Linked DNA regions of Homo sapiens: regions 1 and 3 are each linked to region 2. The links are contacts of gene promoters, found by promoter capture Hi-C in blood cells and fetal thymus (Javierre and others, 2016). All regions are on one chromosome and are shown on one strand. Each heading gives the region's core, a stretch centred on a gene start or on the middle of the fragment in contact. The rest is flanking DNA. Distances are from core to core; before and after follow the strand shown.

Region 1 (2,700 bases), core at 184-2,683, 6.5 Mb after region 2:
GTTGTTAATCTGCATCATTGAAGAAGACGAAGTGCTATTTCGCGTCCAGAGCACAAGTAAATATATTAGCAACGTTTTCCTTTCCACATTGCCCATTTCCCATTCCCCACTATTACAAACCCACATTCCATGACAAGCAGCTGAGGCATCATCAGGGGAACTCAAAAGAAAAGGCACCTACAAATGTATGCATACACCTAGTTAAAGACATTTATCCTTGTAAGTGCCATCTATTAATTTTGTTCCTTTATTGTGTAATCTTGGACTTAGGGACAAATAGCACATCACCATTATTATTGGAAAAATCCCCAGATGTATCAGGGTGATCATAACATCTTGGCACAGAAGATTTTGTTAAATTCATATTCAAAAGATAAGATAAATACCAAAACTAAATATACTCTTATAGCACAAATGGGGCAAGAACTCTCAGCCAGCTCTAGTTCTCGCTCATCATCTTTTTTTATTCCAAGACCAAGTCTCGCTCCTTGCGCAGGCTGGAGTGCAGTGGCACAATCTCTGCTCACTGCAACCTCCCCCTCCTAGGTTCAAGCTACTCTCGTGCCTCAGCCTTCCAAGTAGCTGGGATTACAGGCATGTGCCACCACGCCCAGCTAATTTTTGTGTTTTTAGTAGATACGGGGTATTGCCATGTTGCCAAACTAGTCTCGAACTCCTGGGCTCAAGTGATTCACATTTGGCCCCCCAAAGTGCTGAGATTACAGGCGTGAGCCACTGCACCCGGCCACCATCGCTCATTTTTAAAAGCACATTTATTGAGCTCTTTCTAAGAGACAGGTTGCATTAGGCACCTGATGGGAGCCAAGGTTCCTGCTCCCATGAAGCTTATATTCTGGGACAAGAGATACCCAAGTAAGAAATGAAGACATAAAAACACAAAGTAATTACAAATTAAGATAAATCTAAAATTAAAGGAGTGAAACACATGATGACATAGATATTAACTAGGAGCAGAGGGTAGAAGTTGTTTAGATGTAGTGGTCAGGGATAACTGTTTAGAAGAATTGCCACCTGAGCTGCTATCTGTAGGATGAAAATGAGTCAGCCATGTGGAGACCTGTGGGAAGAATATATCCAAAAAGGGAACAAGGGAAACGATACCTTAAATACAATGTCATAATTACAAAAAAGACCCCTCAAAAATGCCAGTTATCAGCAGATGGCAGTATCCATATATGTAAGAAAAGAAATATAGGTCAATAGAGTTGGAAATATACACTTGTTTCAGATAGCCATGTCTTAAATTGGATGTCCAGTATGATTCATCCTAATGTGGAATGAGTAAGTAGCCGTATTTAAGCCAACTCAAGGCAAAATTACCAGGCCCTGTTGATACTCTACTACCCAAAAAGTTCTTCTCCCTAGGGTCCCTGCCACAGTTGCCTCTTTTCACTTTCCTCCCTAAACTTCTTTTTCTGTATTTACCTTTTAAACATTGTTCCTCACATTTTTATTCTTTTTTGGCTCTCTACAATCTTTTTCAAAGTAATCCATTCCCATTGGCCACCATGTTCTAAACTCTCTTCTGAGTTTACAAGTCAAATATATACCATTGGATTTTGCCACATAAATGACGCACTAGGACCATAAATTCAGCAGAGCCAAAACTGGATATGTTATTTCTTGCCCTGGCCACACATTCCAATCATTGCCTATGTAACCTCCCTGGCACCCACATTGATCACTTGCCCATGCTTGCCACCTGGATCCTCTTCTACTTTCTGACTTCTTCCCCTCAGCTCCCACATTCAGTCACCCAATCTCCTGATTTTATATTCTCCATATTTACTGGAGTAAGCTCATTTAGAAATTAATGTATCAATGCTGAATTCCTTACTTCTTTACACTATGACCTGAATTATATAGTAGTATCCACTAATTATGTGTTTACATGTGCCAAGTACTCTAATAAGTGACTGACATGCATTATATCATTTCGTCCTTCCAATAGCCCTATGAGCTAGGAACAGTATTATTCCTCTTTTATATATAAGAAGAGTAAAGCTTACCAGTGTCCAACAATTTGCCTAAAGTCACCTATATAAGTGGAAGGGAAGAAATTTAACCCACATATTTTGACTATAAAACATGACCTTTTATACAGTGTGTCATAAAAGAGAAATGGAAAATTAGCTTTCATAAGAAGAATCTAATTTGATAGTTCTTTTAGGAACAACTTTCCCACTTCAAAGGTTTTAGGATTCAAGGATAAATGACACTAAATCCAGCTATAAGGTGAGATGGTATTCAATCCATTAAAACAGTGGTTCTGAAATGTTTTCAGGTAGCAAATACCTGGAACTTGTGGTGTTATATGGAAAAATTTAAAATATATTAATAAATTTAATTTCACCAAAAAGACTGTAACATAAGACCATATTTTACATAAATGTCCCCACATTATTTTGAATATATAGGTTTTCCAGTCACATGAAATATTTGATCCATTACTGTTTCTTTTTTTTTTTAATCTGCTAGGTGAAAAATGCTAGCAATCTACTAATTTTTTAAGAATGACTATGAGGGAAAAAAGCTTAAAATTGAAAAAAAATATTTTTCTGTTAATTAGAAATACATCATCATTCAATTTAGTAGATCATCTTAGTCCAACCTACTGAACTCTTTCATATGAGCATAATTTGAGAACCACTAAAATATACATTTATTAAGCACCTATAT
Region 2 (2,700 bases), core at 113-2,612:
ACAAGTGGCTTTCCTCCACCTACTGATAACGCCTGTAACAATGCTTCTCCTCTCCTGGTCAAAACCACACTTTTAATGTCAATTTTAAATCTGCCCTTCCATAGTAGGATGATAATTTATGTTAACTCCTGAATTCACAAGCAATCCTAAAACAAGGTAAGTCTAAATACAGATAAGAGGTAGGTTAACTGATCTGCTGAGAACCAAGTTTGCTTGCTTATCTGCTATTTCGAGTCTCTGCACATCTAAAAATGCAAAGGAAACTCTTACCTAATTCTTGCATCTAGAATAGCCTTTCTCCAAATCCTGCCTTCTCCACTTACCTCAGAAGAATTGTTAGGATTAAATGGAAATAGGTACCGTGGTTTTTGCAGTTAAACTCAGTGAAATTAACTATTATATTTCCGTTATATAATGCTGTGTTGTAGGACCCAGAGCTCGTTAGAGAGGTGGAGCCTGGAGACCCAAGTTTGGCAGTTATTACCTCACTGGAGATAGTTCAAGTTATGGAAGGATCAAGAATGACAGATGAAGCGGGCACATGAGAAGCGAAGTGTCTTCAAGACTAAACACTAGACACTATCAGTATTTACAGGGCAAATAAATGAAAAAGAAGACGCTAATGAAATTTAAAACAAATAGTCAAAGGGATATAATGCCGGCAAGAGGCATAAGAGTGCAAGTAATTCAACTAACTTTTAATCAACTAGATCTCATTAATCCCACTCCCCTGACCCTGGGACCCGGGCACTAGGAAAGGGGCTTTGGCAAGCCCCAATGGACTCCAGAGGCTCTAAGTATAAAACGCAGTGCACAAGAAACAACACAGCACCAGCGTTGGTGCAGGATTTCAGACAGCTCCAGGAACTTCACAAGGAAGGTCAGCCGGTCCGCTCAGGCAGTCAGTTCATGGCAGCCCATTCCCTCCCCACCTGCTTGGACCTAGCCGCTCTCACACCCCTCTTGCGGGCCCGAGCGTAGCGAGAAGACCCACGCACACTCCAATGCCGCTCACAGCCGTATCAGTGAGCCCGCACCCACTCCTGGGGGTCTTTTACTTCCCACCCGATCCGGCGACCCGCCACCCCCACTCCGCGTCTCTGCCTGCGGGGACTCCACGGAGTTCGATAATTACCTAGAGCTCCACCGCGCCGCCATTACACCGGACGTACGTCACTTCCTCTTCCCGAGCACCGACGGTAGGAAGAAGGCGAATAGTGAAATATTTAAAAACTTGACGCTCAATTGGCTTGACACGTTATCCCTTTAATTTATTTCAAATACCATATCATAATACCAGAGTCAAAGTAGTCGATCCAGGCACACTGTCTTGTTGCCAAAATGGCGACAAAAAAGAGAAGTTGGCATGAACTACAAAGTCCGAAATCCAGCGCCTGTGCTGACGGAAATGAGGAAAGCATAATTGTAGTTTAGCGTGAAATGGCGCGGTGTACGATGGGAATTGTAGTTCATACAGATGCGCGCCAGCGAGTTAACATCCACGCTGCTCACTGGCAGCCTAGTAGTGTTCAGGGTCTAGCCGAATTTACTTTAAAACTATTTCACTGCATTTTGGGGAAATTTTTTTTAAAAAAGCAGTCAGTTGTCACTTTCCTTGAAAAATCTTAAGAGAGAGATTTTCCTGAGACTTTATAAGAGTTTGACCAACAGTTAAGTGCCTAATAAATTCCAAGATATCCAGGCCATAAGAATGGGAGAATATTAAATCATAAATAGAGTGAAATAATGAGGAAAAACTAATTCTATAGAGACTGTGTTGCCTCTCTTTTAGGTTAAGGTACCAACTGGTATGACCTGAGAATAAAGAGATTGCCTGGCTGAGTAGGAAGTAGCAGTTTGTACAGCGTGCAGAACTAGGGCATCAAACAGTTTCTTTAAACTTCACTTTTCACTAGTAACAAAACCTAAAAGTTCAACTACTTGCTATTTTGGAAACTCTCTTCCTAAACCAAGAATATCTTTATGTTATCAAATCTTTCATAAACCAGGACTGGTTTCTCCACACACTTCTCTATTACAGTTTTAGGGTGCTGTGCTTCCACTCCTTTCTGGAGGCAGAGTGTGATGATTAAGAATAAAAACACTGCAGTTGGACTACTTATTTTGAATCTTGAGTCCTTTTATTATTTATGGATGACTGGGGCAAGTAACTTCACATTCTGTGGCCGTTTCCTGATCTGTTAAATGGAAATACCAATAGTATCCATCCAGGCAGTAGTTTTAAGAATTGAATTAGTTGATACACAAGATGCATTTAAGATAATTGCTAGTATACAATAGTGTTATCTATTTTATTTCATATTTAAGATATTTGGCCATTGTTGATGGTGCATTTTGGTGCACCAATACAGGGCACAGGAGATGGATCTGGAGATGAACATTTGTATTCATATATTTAAAAACCCACAATACTACCGGTGATGGTTAATTCTGAATGTCAACTTGATTGGATTGAAGGATGCAAAGTATTGATCCTGGGTGTATCTGTGAGGGTGTTGCCAAAGGAGATTAACAGTTGAGTCAGTGGACTGGGGAAGACAGACTCACCCTTAATCTGGTGGGAACAATCTAATCAGCTACCATCGAATATAAAGCAGGCAGAAAAATATGAAAAGGCAAGACTGGCCTAGCCTCCCAGCCTATATCTTTCTCCCATGCTGGATGCTTCCTGCCCTCAAA
Region 3 (2,700 bases), core at 73-2,572, 9.4 Mb after region 2:
CAAACTCAGTATTTTTCCCTTACAGATCATTCTGAGTATTGCTGCTGTAACAATTTTCCTAAGTTGTTACTGTTATAACATTATTACTCTAACTCTTATTTCTAGTCTTGCTCTGAACTTTTTAACAGTTTTTTGTTGCCTCCTTAACTATAGCTCCTCTATATGGCTTTCAATCCCTTCTCTGATATAGCTCAACTCTTCCTACCCAACTGTTTCCTGATACTACCCATTATAGACACTTTGCTTGTCAGATAAGTACATTATCTGTGTCTTGTATATAATCATACCATTTCCTTGCTCTTGCTTATGTTGCTATTTTTTCTTCCCACCCCTTAAATCATACATCCTTCAGAGTCTAGTTTAAATCTTGGTTCCGACTTGAAACATCCCTAATTTCTTACTTCTTCACTTTCTCAACAAAGATGAATCCTATGTGACAGGTGTTGTGGTGGGTGCATTACACACCTTCCAGTCTACAAGGTTAAGGTATTATCCCTATTGAGTGAGTGCTTGCTGTGTATGCTAAGCTTGTATTTGCATGCAATGTTTCACTTAAACTCTATGAGAACGTGTTATTTACATTTTACAGTGGCTAACTGTAAGTGGAGATGTGAAGTTTAAAGAGGTTAAGTAAATTCTCCAACATCATTCAGCTAATACATAATAAAGCTGACATTCGAATCCATTTGTGTTTGACTTATTATTGTTTCTAATAAGTGAAAACACAGTGTCTCACCTCAAAGACTCACAGTCTGGTAGAGGAGAAACATAGTACACAGACAGTCTTAATGCCTTGTGGTAAGTTCTGTGATGGAGCTAAGCCCACCGTCGTGTAGAAGCACATTAGGACGGGTGCTGATCTAGAATGAGAAGATGAGGAAGGGCTTCCGGGAGAAAATTCTGAGCTGAATCTTAAAGCAGTAGTCAAGAGTTCTGAGAAATGGGAAAGACTGAAAAACTGTCACTGATTGGAAGGTTCTGAGAAGATATGACAACTAAGGTGGTATGCTGGACTGGGGTCTAGGAACATAAAAAAGACATTAATGGAAAAAGTGAAGAGCTCCAAATAAATTATGTAGTCAATAGTCATGTACCAGTGTTAATATCTTAGTTTTGACTAACATGCTGTGCTTATGTAAAGTGCTAACATTTGTGGAAGCTAGGTGAAGCGTATGCAGGAACTCTGTAATTCTTCTGTAAATCTAAAATTATTTCAAAATTAAAAGTTAAAAAATAAGCTTACTCTTAGGAAATAAAAAAGAAGTAATTAGAAAACGTGTTCTATGTAGATAGCAGAGAGTGCAAAACCATGGAGAGAAAGTTGACTTTGAAGGGTTGCGTTTAAGTAATTGAAGCCATTGTTCTATGCTGAGAAACAAGAAGAGAGGATATTCCTTTTTTCTGAGGAAGCTTATCAGAATCAATTAGGGAAAGTTTTCTTGGCCAACAGTAGCCCCCTACCCACCACTGTCTCAAGGAAGCCATATCTAAAGGACCTCTTCATATTGATAGGGTGTGTCTGGGGGATGGGGGAAATTGTTGGAGTTATGAACTATTTTAATAGAGCACAGTGTTAAGTGAAAAAGTAGTTCAAGTTAGACTGGGATCAGACTACCAAAGCCTTAAGAATTTAGATCATTTCCTAAAGTCAGAGGGAAAACAGTGAAGGATTTTAGCTTTATCTGAGCAAGTAATATGGTCAAATTTGCAAAATTAGTCTGGTGTGACTGTGAAAGCTGCATTGAAGGACTGTACCTGGAGACTGTAGGAAGCCCTGAAGAGTGGCCCAGGCTGGAGATGTTAAGCTTCTGAACTGAAGTACTCATGGGAATGGAGAAGAGGCTCCAGCCAAAGGGCAGGTTATATATCGCAAATGCTTTGTTGCTCATACATTCTTGATCTTATACCATTTCATACAACCATGCCTCCTGGCTGACAGCACTTACAAGAGACCATTGATTATAAGATGCATTCTAATTTCAAAGAGATGAACAAGTGAAAATCAAGTGTCTTGAACTAATAAAATAGGATAGTAGTGGTCCCAGTTTGCAACAAATTTAGTGTGTTGTAATACAGTAGCTCTCCCTTGTCCACAGAGGATATGTTCCAGGACCCTCAGTGGATGCCTAGAACCACAGGTAATACCAGACACTCTATATAGTAAATGTTTTCCTATACATACATACCTATGATAAAGTTTAAGTTATAAATCAGGCACAGAGATTAACATCAATAACTAATAAAATAGAACAATTATAACAATATGTCAGCATCACTACCCTTATACTTTGGGGCCATTATTAAGTAAAATAAGGGTTACTTGAACATAAGTACTTCAGTACAGCAATAGTGGATAGGATAAACTAGACAGTTTCTACGTGACTAACGGGCAGGTGTGTCTACAGCAGAGAATGCTGGAAAAAGGAATGATTCATGTCTCAGGTGAGACAAGGGAATTCACTACTGAGAATGGCATACAATTTTAAACTTATGAATTGTTTCTGGAATTTTCCATTTAATATTTTCAGATTGATCTTGACTGTAGGTAATTAAAACCAGGGAAAGTGAAACCATAAATAAGAGAGTACTGCTATGAATATAATAGACACAGAGCAAATACTTTTTACTTGGAAGATACAAGAAGATTTATATTTCTGCGCCTTGTTCTGTGATAATATCGTGAAAGTAGTCAAACAGTGC

Evidence for each region. Contacts are between HindIII fragments. The CHiCAGO score rates a contact against its expected background, and 5 or more counts as called.
Region 1: a contact is called between a fragment that was not itself captured here and the fragment with the promoter of CWC22 in region 2, in 1 of 17 cell types (non-activated CD4 T cells). The highest score is 5.9, in non-activated CD4 T cells.
Region 3: a fragment that was not itself captured here is called in contact with the fragment with the promoter of CWC22 in region 2 in 1 of 17 cell types (total CD8 T cells); the score reaches 6.0 in total CD8 T cells.

Annotation. Positions count from the first base shown.
Region 1 is chr2:186,479,516-186,482,215 of GRCh38, forward strand. All of the region lies in intron 1 of LOC105373785 (a long non-coding RNA gene), which reads right to left. Among named protein-coding and RNA genes, the nearest start is that of ZC3H15, 5.4 kb to the right of the region's middle. The HindIII fragment of the contact is 1,180 bases long and covers 844-2,023 here.
Region 2 is chr2:180,005,935-180,008,634 of GRCh38, forward strand. CWC22 (CWC22 spliceosome associated protein) reads right to left here and starts at 1,363. Exons shown (of 20, transcript NM_020943.3): 1 at 933-1,363. RefSeq lists an enhancer at 511-1,043. The HindIII fragment of the contact is 3,569 bases long and covers 1-2,700 here.
Region 3 is chr2:189,444,581-189,447,280 of GRCh38, forward strand. All of the region lies in intron 1 of WDR75 (WD repeat domain 75), which reads left to right. Among named protein-coding and RNA genes, the nearest start is that of WDR75, 4.5 kb to the left of the region's middle. The HindIII fragment of the contact is 172 bases long and covers 1,237-1,408 here.